Regions from separate parts of the Homo sapiens genome. Here regions 1, 3, 4, 5 and 6 are each linked to region 2. The links are contacts of gene promoters, found by promoter capture Hi-C in human tissues and cell types (Jung and others, 2019). All regions are on one chromosome and are shown on one strand. The core of a region is centred on a gene start or on the middle of the fragment in contact, and the rest is flanking DNA. Distances in the headings are between cores, read along the strand shown. Region 1 overlaps UBALD2 (UBA like domain containing 2). Region 2 holds the start of RHBDF2 (rhomboid 5 homolog 2). Region 3 overlaps ST6GALNAC1 (ST6 N-acetylgalactosaminide alpha-2,6-sialyltransferase 1). Region 4 has its middle 8.8 kb from the start of ST6GALNAC1. Region 5 overlaps PRPSAP1 (phosphoribosyl pyrophosphate synthetase associated protein 1). Region 6 has its middle 3.4 kb from the start of MXRA7.

The links. The method cuts DNA at HindIII sites, captures the fragments that hold promoters and counts their contacts. A contact is called where the count stands out against the background at its distance.
Region 1: a fragment that was not itself captured here is called in contact with the fragment with the promoter of RHBDF2 in region 2 in 1 of the 25 tissues and cell types used here (dorsolateral prefrontal cortex).
Region 3: a contact is called between a fragment that was not itself captured here and the fragment with the promoter of RHBDF2 in region 2, in 1 of the 25 tissues and cell types used here (lymphoblastoid cells).
Region 4: a contact is called between a fragment that was not itself captured here and the fragment with the promoter of RHBDF2 in region 2, in 2 of the 25 tissues and cell types used here (adrenal gland and pancreas).
Region 5: a contact is called between a fragment that was not itself captured here and the fragment with the promoter of RHBDF2 in region 2, in 3 of the 25 tissues and cell types used here (IMR-90 fibroblasts, aorta and mesenchymal stem cells).
Region 6: a contact is called between a fragment that was not itself captured here and the fragment with the promoter of RHBDF2 in region 2, in 4 of the 25 tissues and cell types used here (H1 embryonic stem cells, IMR-90 fibroblasts, mesenchymal stem cells and 1 more).

What each region holds. Positions count from the first base shown.
Region 1 is chr17:76,267,532-76,270,408 of GRCh38, forward strand. It overlaps UBALD2 (UBA like domain containing 2), which reads left to right. Exons shown (of 3, transcript NM_182565.4): 3 at 2,663-2,877. Among named protein-coding and RNA genes, the nearest start is that of UBALD2, 3.6 kb to the left of the region's middle. RefSeq lists enhancers at 600-829, 2,530-2,719. The HindIII fragment of the contact is 4,243 bases long and covers 1-2,877 here.
Region 2 is chr17:76,499,849-76,502,736 of GRCh38, forward strand. It overlaps RHBDF2 (rhomboid 5 homolog 2), which reads right to left and starts at 1,575. Exons shown (of 19, transcript NM_001005498.4): 1 at 1,505-1,575. RefSeq lists enhancers at 833-1,502, 1,853-1,992 and a silencer at 1,163-1,802. The HindIII fragment of the contact is 32,589 bases long and covers 1-2,888 here.
Region 3 is chr17:76,633,665-76,636,836 of GRCh38, forward strand. All of the region lies in intron 1 of ST6GALNAC1 (ST6 N-acetylgalactosaminide alpha-2,6-sialyltransferase 1), which reads right to left. Among named protein-coding and RNA genes, the nearest start is that of ST6GALNAC1, 8.5 kb to the right of the region's middle. The HindIII fragment of the contact is 7,403 bases long and covers 1-3,172 here.
Region 4 is chr17:76,650,989-76,654,066 of GRCh38, forward strand. It overlaps the pseudogene PTMAP13. Among named protein-coding and RNA genes, the nearest start is that of ST6GALNAC1, 8.8 kb to the left of the region's middle. The HindIII fragment of the contact is 8,814 bases long and covers 1-3,078 here.
Region 5 is chr17:76,327,928-76,330,899 of GRCh38, forward strand. It overlaps PRPSAP1 (phosphoribosyl pyrophosphate synthetase associated protein 1), which reads right to left. Exons shown (of 10, transcript NM_002766.3): 5 at 2,624-2,739; 6 at 2,116-2,171; 7 at 790-935. Among named protein-coding and RNA genes, the nearest start is that of QRICH2, 21 kb to the left of the region's middle. The HindIII fragment of the contact is 4,882 bases long and covers 1-2,972 here.
Region 6 is chr17:76,712,898-76,715,777 of GRCh38, forward strand. It overlaps a transcript of JMJD6 not described here. Among named protein-coding and RNA genes, the nearest start is that of MXRA7, 3.4 kb to the left of the region's middle. The HindIII fragment of the contact is 3,371 bases long and covers 1-2,880 here.

The DNA of each region.
Region 1 (2,877 bases), core at 270-2,769, 230 kb before region 2:
GGCCAGGGCAGGGGGAGTCTCTATGTGGCCCAAGCTGGTCTTGAACTCCTGGCCTCAAGCTATCCTTCCGCCTCAGCCTCCCGAAGTGCTGGGATTATAGGTGTGAGCCACTGCACCCAGCTGGCAATTTCTTTTCTTTTTTTTTTTTTTTGAGACAGAGTTTCACTCTTATTGCCTAGGCGGAGTGCAATGGTGTGATCTCGGCTCACCGCAACCTTCACCTCCTGGGTTCAAACGATTCTCCTGCCTCATGGGATTACAGGCACGTGCCACCTGTAATCCCACACCTGGCTAATTTTGTATTTTTAGTAGAGACGGGGTTTCTCCATGTTGATCAGGCTGGTCTCGAACTCCCAACCTCAGGTGGTCCGCCTGCCTCGGCCTCCCAAAGTTCAGGGATTACAGGCGTGAGCCACTGCACCCGGCCTGGCAATTTATTTTGGACAAAGTAAGTCAAAGGAAAAAGATCAAAAAACGAAACACTAGAGACCAGTAACAGCAAAATGGCAAAACCAGAAGTCATGAGTAACTGATAAATGGTTGTCCCGTACATTACTGTAGATTCCCATAGTTGGAAGCTTCCCAGTTGATAAGGAGGGCTTCCCAGTTGGAAGTGGAGAAAGGCACTACAGACTTGAAGTGGGAGGACAAAGGTACAGGGGACAATGGGTTTTCTTGAGAACTGGCCGAGAGGGCATATCTGGTTCAAAACCCTCATTTTACAAAAGCAGAGAGAAGCTCCAGAGAGGTTCAGGAACTTGCCCAAGCTTACACAGGCAGGCCACCACAGGCCTGCCAGCCATCATCCCTGCTGTTCTCTGGCGGCTGTTTGAGGAGACAGGCCTCGCTGGCTGGCGGGGAACTGGGGAAGTCGGTCACGATGCTGTGATGCAATTGGCCTCCACCCCCACCCTTCATTCATTGTTTCCTGCTGCCGAGAAGTCATCCCCAGAGGGTGGGGGGGGGGCAGGGAGTAGTGGAGGGAGGAGGGGAAAGGTCTGGGTGGGGCCAGGCCTCTGCATTGGGTCCTTTGGCCTCCCCCTGAGGACCCCTAGAAAGGCAAGGGTCAGAGCTCCCTTGGTGCCCTGGGTGCTGACATGGTGTGGGGCTCAATGGACAGGGTGTGCTAGTGTCCCCATTCCATGTATGTTACACACCCCCTACACAACCTCCGGTTTCTAGCTGTGAAAGCTCCCTCTGTTTTTTTTTTTTTTTTTTTTGAGACGGAGTTTTGCTCTGCCACCTAGGCTGGAGTGCAGTGACGTGATCTCAGCTCACTACAACCTCCACCTCCCGGGTTCAAGTGATTCTCCGGCCTCAACCTCCCAAGTAGCTGGGATTATAGACGCCCATCACCACACCCAGCTAATTTTTGTATTTTTTAATAGAGACAGGGTTTCACCATGTTGGTCAGGCTGGTCTCGAACTCCTAACCTCAGGTGATCCACCCGCCTCGGCCTCCCAAAGTGCTGGGATTACAGACGTGAGCCACTGCGCCCTGCCAAAGCTCCCTCTTTCAAGGTGAAGAGCCCTCAAGTCGTTCCCCCAACTCCTGCGCCTGGGGGAGGGGCCAGTGTTGCTAAAATTAGGAGAAATTCAAAGAAGGACTCCTGTGGCTTCCTGGGAAAGGGAGAAAGCAGCTTTGAGGTCCCAGCCAGTTTTGTGTGGTCTTGTTCTCTGTGTTGCCTCTTGCCCATGCTGCTGACGAGGTGCTCCTGGATGGCACTCCAGCCCCTGCCCCCAGGGTAGTGACAGAAGACAGCAGATGGGGGACTGTAGCTACCCCCAGGAAGAGGACTGAGGGGCTGGACAGACTGAGAAACTGCCAGCCTGCAGGCAAGGGCAGGCCAGCTGTGTTTGTGGCCTGAGGCTACAGACACAGGACATTGAAATCCCTGGTTTGTGTCCTCAAGGGGCCCAGATATAAAGGGGCTCTTGACTCTGTGCAGCGTGGCCCAGTAGATGTTAAGAGCTTGGGCCTGCAGACTTGGGAGCTGGGGAGGTCCGTCTTCTCAACTTGCCCTCTGCTGTGGGTGCATTTTCGGGCAAGTGACTTGACTTCTGGGCCTCAGTTTCCTCATTTGTCATAAAGAGAGGATAATTGAAGCCACTAAGTGTCATTGTTAAGGGAGGCAAAGCCTTCAAGGCCTGGTGGCTGTCACCCTTAGTGTGGTGTGAACCCATCCACCAAGGTGGCTTAACTTTTCCAGGGTTGGCACAGGAGGGAGAGCCTCCCCGCTGGCCGCTCTCCCTTGCCTAGCAGCCTGGGAGCATCTGAGGGTGGCTGGTGGGGCAGTCAGCTGGTCTCCCTGCCCAGGGAAGGTGCGGAACAGTGGTGTCCTGGGCTGCCCCCTTGCCCTTTCACTTTAATCTGACACCTTAGCTCCTGGGTGCAATTAACCATTTACTTTGAATGCTCCTCGGGGTGTCATTTCCAGGCCTCATGAAACCCCGTTGGTTTTGATAAGGTTCTTGGGTTTTGTCCTTGTTTTCTGTTTGTATTGCCTCGGGGAGAGGGCACTTTTGTCCTGTGGAAGCTGCTTGTGCGAAAATGAATGAAGCTGAAAAATGGGAGTAAAGGAGCGGCTGGCCTGGGTAAGCCCCATCCAGTGGCTCGGGGACCCCCGAGGCAGCCTCCCCACACCCGTGTTCTCTCCCGCAGATGTGCACTCCCAGCAACACCCCTGCCACGCCGCCCAACTTCCCCGATGCGCTGGCCATGTTCTCCAAGCTCCGCGCCTCCGAGGGCCTGCAGAGCAGCAACAGCCCCATGACAGCCGCAGCCTGCTCCCCACCTGCAAACTTCAGCCCCTTCTGGGCCTCGTCCCCGCCCAGCCACCAGGCGCCCTGGATCCCGCCCTCCTCCCCCACCACCTT
Region 2 (2,888 bases), core at 325-2,824:
TTCCTGGGAGATTGCCCTGGGGTTAAGCACCCCAGGCCTGGGCTGCAAGGGGGTCCTCTGTTCCCAACCTCTCCCCCACAGCACCTAGACCAGCTTCCTGCAGGGCCAGTGGAGATTGGGAAAGGCGGTGTCTCATGGCACCAAAGGAAGACTCTTGTGAGGGGAATAAGTGCCCTCACACTGCCTTACCCCTCATCTCATTCAGGTTTATTCCAAGTTCCTCCCCTAACCACTCTGGAAAACTGAGGTAGTTTCCCCAGTGAGGGAGCATCATTGAGAAGGAACCTGATGGACCAGCTGCTGCGCAGGGTTTCTCAGCCTCAGCACAGCCCAACACCTTGGGCTGGATAATTCCTCGTTATGTGGGCTGTTCCGTGCCCTGAAGATGTCTGGTAGCGTCCCTGGCCTCTACCCACTACCTGCCAGTAACAACAACACTCACTTCCCCTCCCAAGTGTGTGACACCCAAAATGACTCCAACATTGCCAAATATCCCATGGCAGGCAAAGTCGCCCCTGGTTGAGAACCACAGCTCTAAAACACGCCTCCCTTTCCACTGCCTGCCCTACGGACAGTGAGGGTCGAATAAGGCAGATGCTGGTCTCATTATATTACCAGCAAATGGCACACACTGGGGGCCTGATGCCAGCCGCCCAGGCAACAGCAGCCTCTCCCCAAGTGGGGTCAGCTCCCCACCGCCTTCTGCTCCTCAGACACACCCGCTGCCACCCTCTCAGTAGCTCCAACCCTAGAGCCCCCTCCGTTAATCTTTCATGGAATGGGGCAGGGCCAAAACCTAGGCTTCCTTTGCGCCCTGGCGTGGGAGTGGGGCGGGGTCTGTACCCTAGGGAACTTATCCGTCTCTATCCCAATGCCCTGGGGGAACATCCGAGGGGCCAAACAGGTAAAAGGCAAGCCCAGGGCCAACCTTCCCCAGCCCCTCCATCCAGAAGTCAGGACTCCTGGGTCCAATTTCTGAGCTCCGGTCCAGCCCTGCTGTGTGAGTCCCTCATCCCCACCCCCGCACCTGTTTCCACCTTGGCTGGCTCAACCAACAAACTTCGGCCCCGGTCCGCCCGGTGCTCACCCGGGAGAAAGTGGAGGGGAGAGAAGGGTCTGAACTGCAGGCACTTCTGGGACGCAGGCGGGACTGCCCTGCGCAGTCTCCTCTCTTCCTCCGGAGGTTTAAATCTCTGCCCAATCGTCTTGCCCCTACATCTGGCGCCCCGTCGCCCAGGGACCCCTTAGGCGTCCTGTCCGAGCCGAGCCCTAGGGGCCAGCAGACCGGGTCCAGCGGCCCCGCCGGCGCCGTCTGAGCCAGCCCGGGCCTCCAGCCGAGCCCACGTGGGACCCAGGCGCTCCGCAGGGCGGGCACCGGGCACTGGGCACCCTTCCTGGCCGCGCACCACCGCTCCAGGGCAGGCTCGGGCACAACCTCGGGACCCTTCCGGCGCCTGCGGCTGGGCGGCCGTGAGTCCTGCCCCGCTCGTCGCCCCGCGCTCACCTCCCTGCGGCCCCAAGTCCCCGGGACGCAACTCCGTGCGGCGCCTGCGAGCGGCTGGGCGGTGGCTCCTCGGGGGCGGGGCGGCGGCGCTCCGCCTCTTCCCTACCTGCGCGCGGGCGGCCGGGAGGCGGGGCTGGGCTCCAGGGGGCGTGGCCGGGCTCATGGGGGCGGGGCCTGGACGCAGTCTTTGCTCAGTCGGCTTCCTGGGTTCCTGCCTCCGCCCTCCACCCAGCTGGGTCCCCGCCTGGGCAGAGCCCTGTTTTCGCCTGAGCTGGTCTCTTCAGGGCGCCGTCCTTTCCCTCTTGGCGTCCTCACTCCACCCCAGACCAAACACGTCATCTAGGTCTTGATTGCCGTCTTCAAGTCGCCCCTCCCCATCAAGAAAAAGCACCCAATCTCCCATCCCCTTCTTCCAGCGCCCTCATCCTCAGGCCAAGTGGGCCTGTTCCCTTGACCCTTTTAGTCTGTAGTCACACTCTCTCCGGGAAGCTGGGCCTGAACACCTCCTCTCCCTCCTGGACCCTGAGGCCTCTCTCCTAGCTCTGCTGTGCCCTTGGGTTGGGAACAGGCACTCCGTGGAGGTCCTATCTGCATTTGCCCTGCAGCTAAGGCCAACATTTGTGACTCCTGCCAACCCCCTACACACCCCGTAGAAGCATTGACAGAACCCACCCAGCTCTGGCCCTTCCAGCTGCCATGCGGGCCAGAGCCAGACTGGAGATTGGGGACGCTGGCGACACCTGGCCCCTTGGCTTGGGTCTGTCTGCCCAGGTGGTTCCTTCTCTCTTCCCTGGACTCCAAGGGCCTGCCTCTTGGGACTAGACAAACAAAACCTTGGCCAGGGCAGCTAGGACCGAACTCCAAGGTCTGGATGCCCCGTTCTCAGCCCCAGCGCTTATCATCTCGCCGTCCCTCTCCAGGAGGCCTGGCTAGGCCAGGAGGAGCAGAGTTTGAAGAGACTCAGGCTTGGAGGGGTGGGGGTGGGGTTGTCAGGGCCAAGGCAAAACCTCTGGCCCTTAGAGAGCTCCTGAGCCACCCTGCCCCCCAACCCAAGGACTCTGGTGTTTATTGCTGACCTGGGTGGAGGTGGGGAGCACCTGGCTGCTGGAGATTATCCTGAGAGATGCATCTCTCCTCCCCAGCTCTGGGGCCATGAGGAGGGCACAGGCTGGAAGGAGGGGGAGTGGGCCAAAGCTGGGGTGGGGGTTGCTCCTAGTAACAAATGTAAGGGACCATTTATTGTGCAACCAGCACATCCTGGGGTTATGTGCAGAGAGGAACAAAACCAGGGCCTGCCCACGAAGTGCCAGCATTCTACAGGGAGACGTTGGAACTCAATACTGTAACAGGAAGGGTGAGAGCAGCTAGCCATTCCAAAGTGCTT
Region 3 (3,172 bases), core at 597-3,096, 130 kb after region 2:
TGGTGGCACGTTCACAGCTCATTGCAGCCTCGACCTCCCGGGCTCAAACGAGTCTCCTGCCTTGGCCTCCTGAGTAGCTGGGACTACAGGTGCATGTGCCCCCAGGCCCAGCTGCCTTCTATATTCTTCAGTGTACATCACCAAGGGGAACCTGGAAGTGAAGAAATGGCAAAAGGTTCAAAGTTCGTTTATGCCTGCAGCCATGAAACACCTATTGGCCAGAGAGCGGTATTTTCCAAGAATACAGTACGAGAGATAACACAGGAATGTTGAAGTTGACTAGGATATTGAAGAGGCTGAAACTGAATTTTGAAAAAATACCCCAAGGAAAGGTCACTCACTAACAAAGCCAGTATGAGTAGAAGATTATTTTATGGAGGAGGATAAGAAAAGAGCTGAAAAGACTCCTTTGATTCGCTAAATAATTTTGCACCTGGGCTCCCGCCTTCTATGGCATGGAGAGCGAGCGGAAGTGGCTGCAGGTGAGTTGCGCCTGGTATGTGGGAATGGCTGGTCACACAGAATCGCCTCTACTTACGTCCTTAAGTCCTGGGCTCTTTCTCAGTCCCCACCATCAACTTTGCCCTCATTTTATCTCAGGCCCCCTGGCTGGGTGAGCTTTCCTCTTCCAGGTTACATGTTTGGTTCCCACAGCTTTGATGCTGCTTCTCCTTGAAAGGAGGACAAACTAACACTTCGCTCTGCCCTGTGTCCCTCTCCACTCCCTGCTGTGGAGCTCTCTACCTTGAACTGCTCCTGCCTCCTGTGCCCCACATTGTTAGCTGGGCCTGGAGTTCCCAAGACCCCCTTGGTGTCCACGAGGGCTATTCCAGCCTCCTTTTGGTATTTGATCAGTTCTTCGGGGTCTCCTGTCTTATGTGAGATAGAAACCAGCCATTCTGCTTTTTCTTTTCCAACTCTAAAGTTGGCCAGGCGTGGTGCCTCACGCCTGTAATCCCAGCACTTTGGGAGGCCGGGGGTGGGGGTGGGGGGTGGATCACCTGAGGTCAGGAGTTCGAGACCAGCCTGGCCAACATGGTGAAACCCCATCTCTATTAAAAATACAAAAATTAGCTGGGCATGGTGGTGCATGCCTGTAATCCCAGCTACTTGGGAGGCTGAGGCAGGAGAATCGCTTGAACTCGGGAGGCAGAGGTTGCAGTGAGCTGAGATCGTACCACTGCACTCCAGCCTGAGTGATACAGCAAGACTCTGTCTCAAAAAAAACAAAAACAAAAAACAAACTCCAAAGTTTATCTTCCTTGGAAAATCCTGAAAGTTTTCTAAAAGTGAATGAATGCTTTATTTTTACGACTTTACTTTGACTTTAGATGTGTCTATACGCTGCTTCCATGACTAAAAGCTGTATGATTGCCTTAATTATCTTTGTATGCTGGAAAAAAATGGCAGAAATCCATTTTCTCTTGTTATTCTGAGTGTTCTTTTCTCAAATCAAAGCCTGTGTGGTGGTTTTCAGCCACCTCAATCTTAGTGGGGAGATTCTAGTGGGGATGTTATTATGTTCTGGGACTCGAGAGAAAACAGAAGGAAAATGAGTCAGTTGCTGCTCATCATACTTCAGTGGCTGGATACAGCTTCCAGAGCTCCCCCTGAACAGACAGGTCCCCAGCATTCTCAGAGATGCCCTTCGCCTAGCTGAATTCACTGTGGGCCAGAATGCCAGTCAGCTGGTTTGAAAGTTAGATGTCCTACGCCTGTAATCCCAGCACTTTGGGAGGCTGAAGCAGGCGGATCACTTGAGGTCAGGAATTCGAGACCAGCCTGGCCAACATGGCGAAACCCTGTCTCTACTAAAAATACAAACGGCTGGGTGTGGTGGTGCACGCCTGTAATCCCAGCTACTCTGGAGGCTGAGGCAGGAGAATTGTTTGAGCCTGCGAGGTGGAGGTTGCAGTGAGCAGGGATCGCATCACTGCACTCCAGTCTGGGCAGCAAAGAGAGACTCTGTCTCAAAACAACAACAACAATAACAACAACAAACCAACTAAATGAGACATCTTATGGAAAGTTCTACGAGAACTTGACAACACAATGCAATGTTTATTCTGCAATATTCATTGAGTAGCCATGACATGACAGGCATTCAGAGGTATCTGCTAGAGATTAAAGATAAAAAAAGCAATGGTCACTGGTTTTAAGAGGCTCACAGTCTATAAGAGAAACAGACATGAGTATAAGCAGCTGCCTTAAAGTGTCATCGGTATGATATTAGTCATACGTGTGCGAGGCAGTGGTGACAGCCTAGGGAGGCAGTTCTGCTCGGGGGGATACTTTGGTATGTAGGGGTTACCTAAGCTGAGTCTTTTTCTCCTGAGTCTTCAGAAGTGAACTTTTATGAATTATTTTTATTTTTATAAAAGCAATGTGTGCTTATTACGGAAAAAGCAGAAACTGCCTTAAAACATGAAAGGATAGCAACCTCCTATTATCCCAGTCCCTTCAAAGAATCTACTGTTAGTACCTCAGGGCATGAACAGCCGCATCCCTTTTCTACGCCTGTCATGCTTTTGAATACAATTATATACTATTTTGAAATGTTATTTGTTTCCCTCTCCACCCCACCCCCATACCTCCAGCAGTTAAGATTTGGTTTCATGTTCAAGATGTAGTGAAACAGATCAATCTTGGAGAAGTTATGAGGGGGAAGGACTTTACTACTTCTTACCATCATTGTCCTTCCCCTGGAAAGATCCTTTACTCTGGTGGGTGGCGGAAATGAGAGAAGGAGGGATCTGTGAGTTCCAAGGTCAGAGGACCCTGCTTCCTGGCAGTGTTCCAAAGGTCTAACAAGACCCCTGGAAAAAAAAAGAATCCTGAGCCTAGGAAGACAGGACCACAGACAGTGTCAGAAAAGTCTCACACGGAGCTGAGATCACGCCACTGCACTCCAGCCTGGATGGCAAAACGAGACTCCGTTTCAAAAAAAGAAAAGTCCTCCCGCCCGGCCAGCCTCCCCGTCCGGGAGGTGGGGGTAGCCCCCACCCAGCCGCCGCCCCGTCTGGGAGGTCGGGGGCGCCTCTGACCGCCGCCCCGTCTGGGAAGTGAGGAGCCCCTCTGCCCGGCCGCCACCCCATCTGGGAGGTGTACCCAACAGCTCATTGAGAACGGGCCATGATGACGATGGCGGTTTTGTCGAATAGAAAAGGGGGAA
Region 4 (3,078 bases), core at 434-2,933, 150 kb after region 2:
TACTAATAATCATAGTAATATTCCTACAATAAGATTAGTCTTTTTAAAAAAATTTTACTTTAAGTTCTGGGATACATGTGCAGAACATGCAGGTTTGTTACATAGGTATACATGTGCCATGGTGGTTTGCTGCACCTATCAACCTGTCATCTAGGTTTTAAGCCCTGCATGCATTAGGTATTTGTCCTAATGCTCTCCCTCCCCTTCCCCAACCCTCTGCCCCTGCCCCAAGAGGCCCAGGTGTGTGATGTTCCCCTCCTTGTGTCCATGTGTTCTCATTGTTCAACTCCCACTTATGAGTGAGAACATGCGGTGTTTGATTTTCTATTCCTGTGTTAATTTGCTGAGAATGATGACTTCCAGCTTCCTCCATGTCCCTGCAAAGGACATGAACTCATTCTTTTTTATGGTTGCATTTTCAGTACTTTGAAGAAAAAGAGCAGGGCCTTGGAAGTTTTGGTTCTTTTTTCCTCCCCTGTTGCAAATTCTCATGGTTTGAGTTGGGTGGTGGAGAGTGCGTGTCATCTGCGGGTGGTCTCTCTACCTGAAGGTGACTACGTTTGGATTCTGAGACAGGAAGTAGAGGGTGACTAGGTCACAGTCATTTTTTTTTTTTTTAGTTTAATTTTTCCTTTTTTGCTGTCTAGTTGTCCTCATCAATCTTCTGCTTCTTGGTATGGACATCATCATCCTTATCATCTTCAGCTACTCACTTGCCCATAGCAAACTCAGCTTCCTCGTCTTCATCTCCATCCTCTTCCTCACCATCACCTTCTTCCTCTTCTTCATCTACCTCATTGTCAACCTCCTGCTCCCAATTTTCCTCATTAGTGTTCCCATTAGCAGAGGCATCTCTTCCATTTCCGCCTCCTCCACAACTTCCTTCTTCTCCTTTAAGTCCTTGGTGGTGATCTCGGAGCTGGTGTCTATGGCTGCATCTGACATGATGGGGCATGCCGGTGATCTGATACAGGGGATTAAAAAGGAATCGAGAATTCGAGGACTCTGGTGATAAAGCTGCTGGAGTCCACGGAGGAGGAACCAAGGAGCCAGACGAGGAACAATGCAAAGATGGCTTTTCAGAGCAGCCAGTGGGGGCTGTTTTCATTTCAACAGTGTTCAGAGGAGTAGATTCCATCTCAAGAAACCCTCTTGGTGCATGCATAAGAAGCAACTTCTAATCTGTAGAAGTTTGATCATGAGATTGCAGCAACTCAGCCACATCTTCAGGCTCCACCTCTAATTCTGCTTCTCTTGCTGTTTACACCACATCTGTGGTGACTTCTTCTACTGAAGTCTTAAGTCCCTCAAAGTCATCCACCAAGGTTGGAACCAACTTCTTCCAAACTCCTGTTATGTTGATATTTTGACCTCTGCCCATGAATCATGAATGTTCTTCAGGGACTCTAAAATGATGAATCCTTTCCAGAAGGTTTTCAACTTACTTTGCCTAGATCCATCAGAGAAATCACTATCTATGGCAGCTATATCCTTATAAAATATATTGCTTGAATAATAAGACTTGAAAGTTAATATTACTCCTTATTCCATGGGCTGCAGAATAAACGTTGCGTTGACAGGCATGAAAACATTAATCTCCTTGTATATCTTCATCAGAACTCTTGGGTGACCAGGTGCATTGTCAATGAGCAGTAATATTTTCAAAAGAGTCTTTTCTTCTTAGCAGTAGATCTCAACAGTGGGCTTAAAATATTCAGTAAATATGGCTGGTTGTGGTGACTCATGCCTGTAATCCCAGCACTTTGGGAGGCTGAGGTGGGCGGATCACGAGGTCAGGTGATCACGACAATCCTGGCTAACACCGTGAAACCCATCTCTACTAAAAATACAAAAAATTAGCTGGGCATGGTGGCATGCACCTGTAATCCCAGCTACCCAGGAGACTGAGGCAGGAGAGTCACTTGAATCTGGGAGGCGGAGGTTGCAGTGAGCCAAGATCGCGCCACTGCACTCCAGCCTGGGCAACAGAGTGAGACTCCATCTCAAAAAAAAAAAAAAAAGGAAATGTTTGGTGGCCAGGTGCAGTGGCTCATGCCTGTAATCCTAACACTTTGGGAGACCAAGGCAGATCACTTGAGGTCAGGAGTTCGAGACCAGCCTGGCCAACATGGTGAAACCCCCGTCTTTACTAAAAATATAAAAATTAGTCGGGCATGGTGGCATGCACCTGTAGTTCCATTTACTGGGGAGGCTGAGGCCGAAGAATCCCTTGAACCCAGGAGGTGGAGGTTGCAGCGAGCTGAGATCACGTCACTGCACTCCAGCCTGGGCGATAGAGCGAGACTCTGTCAAAAAAAAAAAAAAAAAGAAAGGAAGAAAGAAAGAAAAAAAGGAAAAAGAAAGAAAAAGTTTGAAATATCGCAAGAATTACCAAAATGTGACACAGACATGAAGTGAGCACTTGCTGTTGGAAACATGAGGCTGATAGACTTACTTGATGGAGGGTTGCTATAGACCTTCAGTTTGTAAAATTGCACTATCTATCTGCAAAATACAGTAAAGTGAAATGCAATAAAACAAGGTATGCCTGTAAAAGCATTTTTATAAAAAACGAACTGTCCACAATTTTAGTGTTCAATGTCCATCTAGTTGCCAACATAAAGAAATGGCATCACATTTCACGTGTTATGTCTAGATCCAATTTATCCAAACCTAGGAGCAATATGAGGTTTTTACTATTGCAAAATTTAGTTTAATTTAATTTTTTAAATTTTTGTAGAGACAGAGTCTCAGTATGTTTCCCGAGCTTGTCTGGAGCTCCTGGGCTCAAACAGTCCTCATGCCTTGGCGTCCCAAAGTGCTGGGATTACGAGTGTGAGCTACCACGCATAGCCGCAAAATATTCTTTAGAACTGTGACAAATATTGCACTGATTTGGGAGTACCTCCAGAATCAGGAACTGGACAATCAATACAAGTGGGAAAATGTGGCCGGTCATGGTAGCTCACGCCTGTAATTCCAGCACTTTGGGAGGCCGAGGTGGGCAGATCACCTGAGGTCAGGAGTTCAAGACCAGCCTGGCCAACATGGTGAAACCCCATCTCTACTAAAAATACA
Region 5 (2,972 bases), core at 241-2,740, 170 kb before region 2:
AATCTCGGCATTTTGGGAGACCATGACAGGAGGATTGTTTGAGCAAAGAAGTTCAAAACCAGCCTGGGCAATGCAGGGAGCCCCGTCTCCATACAAAAAGAAAAAAAAAGGAACAGAAAACTATCCAGGCATGGTAGTGTACCCCTACAGTCCCAGCTACCCAGGAGGCGGAGGTGGGAGAATCACTTGCGCCCCGGTCAAGGCTGCAGTGAGCCATGACTGTGCCACTGTACAGAGCAACAGGGGGAGATCCTTTCTCAAAAAAAAAAAAAAAAAGGCGGAGGATAGCAAATACCATTCCATTATTAAAAAACAACAAGACAGCATATATCTACATAGTCGATAACTCCTAGCCATTCATACTACTTAAAACTTTCTTCAGGGCCAGGTGCAGTGGCTCATGCCTGTAATCCCAGCACTCTGGGAGGCTGAGGCGAGCAGATCACCAGGTCTGGAGCAGATCACGAGGTCTGGAGTTTGAGACCAGCCTGGCCAACATGGTGAAACCCTGTCTCTACTAAAAATACAAAAATTAGCTGGGCGTGGTGGCACACACCTGTAATCTTTGCCACTCACGAGGCTGAGGCAGGAGAATTGCTTGAACCCAGGAGGCAGAGGTTGCAGTCAGCCAAGATCACGCCACTGCACTCTAGCCTGGGTGACAGAGTGAGACTCCATCTCAAAAACAAAACAAAACAAAACAAAACAACAACAACAAAACCAACAAAACCAACAAAAAAAAACTTTCTTCAATTTACAAATAAAATAAAAACACAGAGCTCATCTTACATGGCAACTCCAGGCCTGGGTGCACAGTAGCATTTTTGACCATAGGCGGGGAGTGACGACCATCGTCCATGTCCAGTTCCGTGCACTGAGCTTCCCCGTGAATGACGGCCAAACCCAGACGCAGTCTCTCCGCATAGGACTGGGCCCTAGAAGGACAAAGGGAAATGGTGAAACTGACAGGAAGAAATCCCACGCATCACTACGGCATCATTTTTTAACCATAAAATGAAAATATTTAACGTTTCAGGGACATACAAAGGCATTATTTATATAAATGAGAATGTGAGGCCCAGGCCAGCATGTAAATGACTCAAAGGGCACGTGAGTTAGGGTTTGGGATTGTATCTGATTCTAGACATTTTTTTTTTTTTTTGAGACAAGGTCTCACTGTCACCCAGGCTGGAGTGCAGTGGCGTCAACATGGCTCACTGCAGCCTCAACCTCCTGAGGCTCAGGTGATCCTCCCACCTCAACCTCCCGAGTAGCGGGGACCACAGGCATGTGTTGCCACAACTGGCTATTTTTTGTATTTTGTAGAGACGGGGTCTATGTTGCCCAGGCTGGTCTTGAACCCCTGGGCTCAAGCGATCTCCCGCTTTGGCCTCCCAAAGTGCTGGAATTACAGGCGTGAGCCACCCCGCCTGGCCCTGATTCTAGATAATTTTGATTCTATCCTTTGTCCAATATTCTGATAGTCATCTTCAGAAGAAAGAACAACGTTAAAAACCATTGCCTGGGCCGGGCACAGTGGCTTACGCCTGTAAACCCAGCACTTTGGGAGACCAAGGCAGACAGATCACTTGAGGTCAGGAGTTCAAGACTAGTCTGATGAACATGGTGAAACCCCATCTCTACTAAAAATACAAAAAACTAGCCAGGAGTGGTGACAGGCGCCTGTAATCCCAGCTACTGGGGAGGCTGAGGCAGGAGAGCTGCTTGAACCCAGGAGGCGGAGGTTGCAGTGAGCCGAGATCGCGCCATTGCACTCCAGCCTAGGTGACAGAATGAAACTCCATTTCAAAAAAAAAACAAAAAAAAAAACCATTGCTTGAAAAATGCTCATAGCCTCATTGCTTTCCTTTCTCTGAGAACTTGAAGGAACTTTGTTTTCCCAGAGGAAAGCTGAGCAACTCAGCGATCATGTGTGCTGTCTGGAGGCTGGAGATAAAGCTGTGTGTGGCATGGGACATGACAACGATGGAGGGGTTAACATGAGAGCCAGTGGGCTTTCAAAGGCCACGAGTGACAGCCTCTGGATTCCAAAGCAGCTCATTCTGACTTCGGGAGCACTCAGGAGGGATCAGGACCCATGTCTAGCTTACTTACCTCTTTGCAGCATCAGGAGACTTAGCTACAATGACTGCATTTCTGTAATTTGGAATCTAGATTTGAAGGAAAAATAGAAAATACTGAAAAGTTATCAGAAAATAACACCTGGATGCTGGTATTCAAGTTTTCCCTCTTATAATGATCCAAACTAGTCATCAAATATGCTAGAATTTTAGTCACAAGTTTTAGATTTTTCAATATTTATCAATTAACATCACTGGAAAAAGCACTCCTACGTCAAGAATTTTTTAAAAATAATTCTTAAAACATTCATTTTAGAAAACATAAGCAAATTGCTAAAGATACGTAGAAAAAAAATCTGTTTTTAGTGTCTTTTAAAGCTATGATCGTCCACGACTAAAGCTGACCCTGTCTGCTGCCTCAGGCATTGTGACTTAAGGGAGAGCTCATTTGATGTGCCTTCCAGTAACGAAATCTGATACCAGAGAAAAACTAAATAAGATCTCTTTTGAGGACAATGGGGTGTTTGCTGGTGGTTCCTCACTTCTTCCTGGATATACTGAAGCAGGAAAGGTGAGGCTCTAAGGTTGTCCACAGGAAAGCTGAAAAAGCCTTGTATTTCCTTTTGATGAAGATCCATAGTGATAATGTGAGTTAAACCTGAAATTTTAAAACAAAAAATTACAAAGTTCACCCCTACAGGTAAATGGCTACAGTGGACCTAAACTAGATGCTCAACTCCTGCTTCCTACCAGCAGACTGAAGACGGGGTACTGTGATTAAGCACTGCAGTCACAGGCTTGATTGTTAACCTTAATAAAGCCTTAATGTAGAGAAGGCTACAACCTTCCACATGGACAAAGAACTAAAGCTAAGAAAGTGGGAATTATTGA
Region 6 (2,880 bases), core at 71-2,570, 210 kb after region 2:
ACCAACCCAATAGCAGATCCACAGGCTTTCATGGCAGACCCCATGGCTAGACGGACGCAGAACTAGGAGACTGCTCAGTGTTCTGACAACTCCAGGAGGCACGAGTGTGCAGAAGACAGTCCCAGTTCTTCTGTAGCATCCAGTCACTTTGGAGACAGCTGGCCAGGGCTAGCTCTCCTCCCAGGAGGTTCACTGGGGCTTAGATGACATTTCTTTTTTTTTAAAGACAGAGTCTCGGTCTGTCACCCAGGCTGGAGTGGCTTGATCTCAGCTCACTGCAACCTCTGCCTCCTGGGTTCAAGTGATTCTCCTGCCTGAGTTGACCAAGTAGCTGGGACTACAGGCATGTGCCACCACACCTGGCTAATTTTTGTATTTTTAGTAGAGACGGGGTTTCACCGTGTTGGCCAGGCTGGTCTTGAACTCCTGACCTCAAGTGATCCACCTGCCATGGCCTCCCAAAGTGCTGGGATTACAGGGGTGAGCTACGGCGCCTGGCCGAAATTTCTGAACAATGAGACAAAGTTGAGAGCCACCGCCTGGGGGTGCAAGCTCACCTAGTTTTGCTGCATAGGATGTCACATCTTGACACAAGCTAGTGGGAGGGGAGTGTGGAAGAAGCCGCCAGACTCCACTTCAAATCTACCAGCAATACCAGTACACACATCAAAAACAACTTACTCGTGGAAATACTACAGACAATCTAAAGAACCTACAGCTGGGGCATCCTTATACGCCTTCCTCCTACACAGCATTTTTTACATTTACTGCAAAAATTTTGTTCCATCCTATACTCGTCTAAAGTCCTAAATCCAAGGCTCAGTCTCTAGTAAGCTTATAAAGCATTTGCACCAGCAACCTTCCCACAGATCCTTAGTTTTGCTACTTTATGAAGAAGCTGTTACTACCTTAAGTATACATTGGTGTTAATTATGCTCTTTCATGTAGATCCGTTACACCTGCATTTAAGAAGGTCTGCACTTTCTTCTACCTGCCCTCACCAGCGGCCCTGTGAACAGCCGCAACAGCCGCACATTCACTGTCCATTAAGCTTGTGGAGCTTGTCAGGGACCTGGGCTTGTCACCGTTATCTCCAGCACCTCAAGAGCAGTGCCTGGCCCTCAAACACCTATTGAACGCTTGAATTATTAAGACACGGACAGCTGCAAGAATACAGCAAAATGTGAATGTCCCTCTTTTCAGTGGCTCTCCCCTCAAGGATGTCACCCTAAACATCCCAGTACCACTAATGGCAGAGGCATGTGTGTGAAGCATGGATTCTTCCAGCTGATGGTGAAGCCTCATCCCCAAAGACCCAGGGTCCTCCTGATGTTCTAGGTCCCCAACTCTTCTCTCTCCCACTCTGGTCCTTCCATCAGAAGTTAATAATCCAAGATCCCTTCTTCCAGGACCCAGCTCTTTGGTTTTAAGATCTGCTGTCATCTTGGAGAATCATCCCTGAAAATAATCTAACATTATCTCCTTCACTTTACTGTTGTTGGCACCATTCAATGGAGTAGCTCACGCCAGATGGGAAGAGGAGTTAACTTCTGAACAAGTGGTCTCTGGGTACCCACTCTTCCTAGTCTACCTTGGCCACCCGCCACCACTCCACTCCTTTTCCACACACGGTTTCCCCACCTTGCCCCTGTTGTGCTTACATAACGGACAGCCTGGCTAGCCCACAGAGACAGTAACGGGGGTTGGGGAATAGGGCTGCTGAATCCCTGGCCTGGCAGGAATAAACAAAGCATGTCCCAGGAGCACAGAATCTGTACTATCCAGACACTGTACTATCCAGAGCTGACTTGGGCCTATCAGATATGTTATTCCCCTCATTTCTGGAATACTGTTATCAAACAGGAATCAACTTTAGCATCTGGAGAAAGAAAACTGGGTGGCTAATCTTTATTTTCTAGATTATTATTTTTTTGAGAGATGGGATCTCACTATGTTGCCCAGACTGGTCTTGAACTCCTGGACTCAAGCAATCCCCCTGCCTCAGCTTCCCAAAGTGCTGGGATTACAGGTGTGAGCCACTGCACCTGGCCTTGGTGGCTAATTTTTAAAATTCAAAATTTCTGCTCCCCTATCCAGACCACTGGCAACGTGTCCTACCACGCCCCCTGGTGGCAAAGAGCCTTTTTGGGCTGTTTTTTATTTTAAACTGAAGTTTAGAGGAGTTGTTGATAGAAAACTGAAAGGAAGGTAAGGAAAAAGGGCAAGCGTGGCAGCACAGGAGCAATGCTGGGAAAAAGAAAAAAGCTTTTTATAGATGGCAAGAAAAGTCTTTTTAAAAAGCAGGAGTAGCAACACCACTCAGATATTACTACCAAGAGATTATACATTCAGAGTTTGACTTTACTCACACCCAAACACATCCTGTGCCCACCACAGAACCAAGGGGGCTGTGGGCGTGGGGGTAAGGAGGGAGAGCAGCCCCCATGGCAGGCAGGCAGCACAGTTCTACCTACCCAGCCACATACTGGGGTTGGCATTTGAGGATGCAGAAAATTGAACTAAGACAAAAATAGAGAACCAGCCTCCTAGAGTAAAGCCACATGACCCAATGTCAGGAAATGACAGTCTGTTAATAACAGTGAGCAGAGACCTGTATTTTCCTGGTTACACCTGTTTCTAGTGGATATTTTGAGAGGCAACAGCACACAATTCTAACACATCCACACACAGCCTCCCTGCCTGTGAACACTGCAGTGAGAGCTCCTTCCCACCTGCCTGCCAATGCCTCCAACGCTCCAGCCCAGGCAGTGCTTCCAAGTGCGCCCCATGGCCTTGACAACCCCTCTTATTGAAGTTTAGTTGAATTTAGGGACAAATTAAGGCAAGCAGGTGAATCAAGAGGGCAAGAGATGGCATCTG